Linked DNA regions of Homo sapiens: region 2 is linked to region 1. The links are contacts of gene promoters, found by promoter capture Hi-C in blood cells and fetal thymus (Javierre and others, 2016). All regions are on one chromosome and are shown on one strand. Each heading gives the region's core, a stretch centred on a gene start or on the middle of the fragment in contact. The rest is flanking DNA. Distances are from core to core; before and after follow the strand shown. Region 1 holds the start of ZBED5 (zinc finger BED-type containing 5). Region 2 overlaps USP47 (ubiquitin specific peptidase 47).

Region 1 (2,889 bases), core at 132-2,631:
AATCTCCTCAGGTAAACAATGTCTAATGACTGATGATTGTTTACTGTATGCCAATTACTGCTAAATCCCTCATATAGATTATCTCATCTATGAAGACACAAGGATTATTAATAACCCCACTTTAGAGATAAACAGACACAGGTTAACACATCTCGCTAACACCTCTTGTAAGTGAAAAACCAAGTTCAGAGCCCAAAAAGTTTGACTGCATAGCCCATGTGTCTAGCCATTACTTGGGTGTTCCTGAATACTTTTAATTCCCCAACTACTAAAAAATCTCGTTACTAGGAGTTGGGTTATGCAGCGAAACGGATGAACAATGGATTATAACTGCCAGAAAGTCGAGGGTCTCATACTAGCAACAGCATAAAGCCCTGCTTCTTATTGGGAGCAAAAAAGCAGATTCTCCTTCCACAGTCTCCTTTTGGATTTTGCAACGGAGAACTCTGTGGAGCTGCTGGTTCACGTAAAAGATCAGGATCCCTCTCGTTGCCAGAGGACACAGAAGAGTAGGAAGCTTTTGTTTTCAGAAAGAAGGTCCTCAACCCCACCTCTTCGAAGGTGTTTCCCCGAATTTCTCGAGGACAAAGAATCTGGACTCCTTTGAGAGTAAAGTTTCCTTTCCACTCCCTGAAGAGCGGGGAAAACTTCCGTCTTTAGTCTCCTTCCGGTTAAACTGACAAGTATCACAATCCTTTCTCCCCTATCTTCGGGCGGTTCCGGCTGGGAACAATACCCTCAGGGTCAGGAGGACAGGATCTGAGTGCAGGCCAGCCAAAAAGGTGGGAACAGATGCTCCTTCCAACACCTAAATGCTTTTTTAAACGGTCACCTGGATGTGCAGCCAGGGCCAACTATCCCTCAGCTCCTCCCTGTCACAGGTGCGCGCTGCCCACAGATTGCCACGACTGGGGGGCTCCCTACCAGTCGCAGCCCACCCTCGCCTCAGGTCTTCTCTCGCGTCCCCGGGCGGCCGCCTGCGCTAACGACCACATGAAAACGTCTCAGCACCCAACACCATCTCTCTATTTCATCTCCATCAGCGATGGAGAGAACGGATTTTGCCGCGGCTGGGCTGCACAGCAGCGCCGCGGTCCACAGCAGAGCCCGCGACCGCCATCTTAGGCAGTTCCAGGAAGCGGCCATTTCAGAGCGCACCGCTTAGCCGCGGCGGCGGCTCTGCTTCTCACCTTCACCGAGGCCTGAACAGGGTCAACAGCCAGTCGTCGTGGACTGGAGGGGGAGGGGAGAGAGGGAGGGGAATGAAAAACAAAACAGAGAGGAAAGAAGGATTCGGGGACAGGGTGATGCTCTCAGCTCAGGGATATCGCCTAGGCCATCTCCATAGAGATCCGATTCGCGGCTGGCGCGGTCGCCGGTCTGAAGATAAATTTAGCACTCTAGAGCACCCGAACCCTACAATCTTCACGAGCGACTCTGCCGCCGCCCAATCAGCGCCAGATTTGCGTCCCGCCACCAATCCGCGCTGAGCAGCGGGGCGGGACCAAAGGAAAGGACCAAGCTCGGTTGAGGCGCGGCCCAGCCGCAGCCGCAGTCACAGCCTCAGCCGCAGCGGCCGTGCTACCTAGGTGATAGCGGAGCGGCTGGGTAGGAAGCAATTGTTCTCAAACTTCACTAGCCCCGTCGGCGCGGACGCTTGTCGAGAATGCAGATTCCTGGGTACTGCCAGATACGGTTGGTGATCTTGTAGGGCTGGAGTGGAAGCCATGAATCTGCATTTTCATCATTTCTGGCCCTCTGCCCGGGCTGGGGTGATTCACGGGGATTCGTAGTGGCCCCAAAGGAGCACGCAGAACCTCGGCTGCTGTGCATTTATCACCTCTTTTGTTCCCGGAGGCCGCACCCCAGGTCCAGTTTACACAGCTGCCAACTCCTTTTCTTGGTTCCCACTGGAATCTAGGAAGAAAACTCGCCCTTTACTTCTCCGCCCCACACCCGACGACGGAGTGTCTAGAGGTCTGGTCGGCCTTGGCTGTGCGGAGGGCTAGGCCTGACGAGCGGGCGCTGATGCGGCGCAGACCCCGCCGGACCTCTTGGTCGGCCCGGGGTAGGCTGGGGAGCCGCGGGAACAGGACTGGATAGGGAAAGCGGCACCGCAGCGTCCACGGGCAAGCTGAAAGTCCGCTTGATGTCTTTGCATCACAGTGGCGCCCTCCCCGCAGGAACGCCCGGCCGCCTGCACCGAACGTTTGCCTGCAGGGAACGGCCAACCCGCCCTGAAATACTCTTTTTGTGGGCTGCAGCTTTCGGGTATTTTAAGCCATGGTTCTGTGCCCTTCCTTGTTTTCAAAAACACCACAGCCAAAGGCTGCGGGTTGTGTGCTTTCATTTTGTGTTAAGTTCTGTGGTGGAGACCTGGAGTCTGTTTTTCCAAATAGGCACCTTGAAATAGATACGCTTCTTAAGCGGGGAAAGTACGAGTAGGTCCTATTATTTGCAATGTTTTAGCCTTTCCAGACTCCGTACAAATGACTAAATGAAGATTGGATCGTATTTTCAGGCACTGCACCAATGATAGAAAATTCTCAACTTGGGGTCAAAAGCAAGGGCAGCTTTCGTTTTTCTTAAATATGCTTCTGATCAAATATCTAAAGTGTTGAAAGAAACCTAACCCTTAATAGCACAATTTACAGGAGTGCATAATTTCCTAGGACTGACATTTAGTTCCAAATGTTTTAAAGTCAATTACAACATCATCTCACCCTATAGTAAGCTGTCCATATATTCTCATTATTATTTTTAAATTATTTCTATTAAATCAGCTTCATTTGAACTTTAACCATAAATGCATAAATCGTTTTTGGGAAGGGGGTACAGTCGCGCTTGAAGAGCAAGGGATTTTGTCATTGCGGGAGTTGTCTGGCTTCA
Region 2 (2,889 bases), core at 275-2,774, 1.0 Mb after region 1:
GATATAAACCACCCATGCATACACGGTTCTTAAAATAAAGGTGAAAAAAATAAAAGCTTGAACCTTAGTACAAAGTGAAAAGCAGATAGCTACCATGCTTGGTCTTTTCTTGGAATCCTATAAGTACAGATGGTGTGGATACATATCACCCTTTGCACAGCATGCTGATCTATAGAATTTCATTGACAGGCTTGTTGAAACAGATGAAGTCACTCTGCATTACTTAGAGTCTCAGCTTTTGTGAGTTTGCATGTAGTGAATTTATCTCGTATGTTATTCATTCTTACAGAAATTGGCTTATAGGGCTTGATGACAGGGGTAACTGGTTCTGTATAGTCTTTCTACACTGGATGTGTGTGGTGCTGTTTAAAGTGAATATGTTTATGCTTTTCCATTATAATCTAGTTTAATATGTTTAAAAGTTTAATATGTTTAAACGTTTAGATTTTGGGGGAAAAAGTTTATGTCTATGCCAGTAACACATACTTTACTGAACATATTACTCTTAAAATGTTAATGTCATATAATCTCCATGTGTACCTCTGGACATATCTATAACAAGGTATCCTGACATTTTCTACAAAACAAAGCTTACTTAGAGCACATATTAGAAAAGGGATCTTTTCTTAGGTGCTGTTGAACAAGTTGAAATAATTTCCAAATGAGTAGTAACTTTAACCTCTGAATCTTTACTGTGAATTAAATTCTTATTATGTTTTTGTTATTTTTAATGTAAATGCTGATTAATGTACATTTGTATTTTCTCTTTAAAGGATATGTGGGACTAGTAAACCAAGCAATGACTTGCTATTTGAATAGCCTTTTGCAAACACTTTTTATGACTCCTGAATTTAGGAATGCATTATATAAGTGAGTATTCAAAAAAATTGTATACATAAAATTGATTTAAGAATGAAAATATCACTTTTAACAAAATTTATCTTCTTGCAGTTATTTTAAAGTTTGGGGCATTTCTCACACCATAAGATATAACTTCTTTCCTTACGTAATAACAAAGATCTTGTGAAAAACAGGTATATGAAAAATGTGTGCGGAGAGAGAATCAGAAGTATATAGAGAGCAAAAGGATAAAATTGATGAGATTTACATGTAGGGTAAAAAGCTTCCCTCTCTTGTAGCCTTAACACCCTTTATGAAGAAATAAATAACTGCTTTTGAGAGAATTCGAATATATAAATCCATACTCTCCTTCCACCTCTCAATTTAAGTATCCAAAGTTTTTTTTTAACTTGCAAGTTTTGTTTCTAATTAAAATATAATACTTACAGCTTGTTTCATGTGCGTGTGTGTGCGTGTGTGTGTGTGTGTTTCCTTCTAAAAGACTCCATATACATTAGATAGTTTAAAATGCTCTATGGAGGAAGTCTATGTTTAAGTAAACCCTGAAGTCAGACATTTATTTTTATGAATATCCTATTATGACACATTTAACACACCTTTGCTTTGTATATTTTCTTTAAGATAAACACATAATTTTTTAGTTTTTAAGGATACTTTTAAGTATGAGTAAACTGATTTTTTTTTCCTTTTTTGTGTTACTTTCCACTAACATCTTTAAATTACTGTAAATATGTATTTAGGTTATTTTTGGAACTTTTAATATTGCTGATTGTGTTACTCAACATTATATCACCATTAGATTAATCTGTCAGCTTGTTATCTGAACTTACAGAAGTTGATGTATTTGTCATTCTGTATGCATGTATTGCCCTGTAGTGTTTAAATGCTAGGCACTTGGTGGATAGAGAGGGAATTAGTAATAAGATCTTTGTTCTTGAGTAATTTATAAGTCTTTCTACAATAGCAATATGTATATGTTTGAAATAGTTTAAATAACATTTAAAGACAGCCAAATACCATTAGAGTTTAAAGAGAAGAAAGGTTGGTGAAACTTGGAGAAGAAAGTAAGCTTCAGGTAGGTCATGAAGCTAGATATGGTTTGGCCAGGTTGAGAAGAAAGAGAATACACTGTGCAGATAGGAGGCCTGTCAAAAGTGAAAGTGAATAATAGGAAGGGCTACCTGAGTGTTAGTCATTGTTTGTATCAGATAGTGTTCCGAGCACTTTATATATAGACTCACTTAATTCTCATAGTAACTGTATGAATTTTATGCTATTATTGTCCGCATTTTACAAAGAAGGTAACTGAAGGCACAGAGAAATATAGCTTTGCCTGAAAGCACACTGCTAGAAGTTGCACCTAGTAGATGCCAGGATTCACTACTCTGTTCTGCCTGTGCACTAGCGGATGCCAATAAGCACAGTGTGTTGCGGGGGGCTTCAGGAGATCAGCATAACCAGAGTTTTGTCAGAGTACTGGAGGATGAGGTTAATAAATAGAGTTCAGAGCCTGCTCTCAAAACTAGCACAGACCAGATCGTTGGACAATGTGCCTGTTTTAGGGAGTATGCACAGGAATGGGGATCCTGGGCACTTGTTTAACCATCTGTTTTAATACTCTGAAAGTGGACTGTAAATTTACAGCACTGTAGAGGAAATTAAGAGCATAGCCAGGGCTATTCATCAGCAAACATGTATTGGACATTTACTGTGTGCTAGGCATTCTTTTAGGTATAAGGATTAGAGTGATGAGTAAGAGAAAGTACCTCATTTAGAGCTTCCTTAGGTAAACCTATATATAAGCTCATTTCACAGAATCATGTATGCCAGGTAGAAAATAAAGCTGAGTAATGTGGAGGGAGTAATTGTCAGGAGAAGAGGAGGGGAGGGTCACAGCTTCAGGTAGTAGACAGTAAGGGCCTCCCTGAGGACATTCCAGGAACTTCACAGGAACAAGCCCTCTAAAGATTTACAGTAAGAGCATACAAGGCATAAGAAGCCAGAAGTGTAAAGGTCTTCAAAAAACAA

The links. The method cuts DNA at HindIII sites, captures the fragments that hold promoters and counts their contacts. A CHiCAGO score of 5 or more calls a contact.
Region 2: a contact is called between a fragment that was not itself captured here and the fragment with the promoter of ZBED5 in region 1, in 1 of 17 cell types (activated CD4 T cells). The highest score is 7.5, in activated CD4 T cells.

Annotation. Positions count from the first base shown.
Region 1 is chr11:10,856,672-10,859,560 of GRCh38, forward strand. ZBED5 (zinc finger BED-type containing 5) reads right to left here and starts at 1,382. Exons shown (of 3, transcript NM_001143667.2): 1 at 1,191-1,382. ZBED5-AS1 (ZBED5 antisense RNA 1) reads left to right here and starts at 1,546. Exons shown (of 3, transcript NR_034137.1): 1 at 1,546-1,695. RefSeq lists enhancers at 1,048-1,427, 1,581-2,218, 1,728-1,817, 2,219-2,854. The HindIII fragment of the contact is 21,619 bases long and covers 516-2,889 here.
Region 2 is chr11:11,896,824-11,899,712 of GRCh38, forward strand. It overlaps USP47 (ubiquitin specific peptidase 47), which reads left to right. Exons shown (of 28, transcript NM_001282659.2): 5 at 774-870. Among named protein-coding and RNA genes, the nearest start is that of USP47, 56 kb to the left of the region's middle. The HindIII fragment of the contact is 807 bases long and covers 1,122-1,928 here.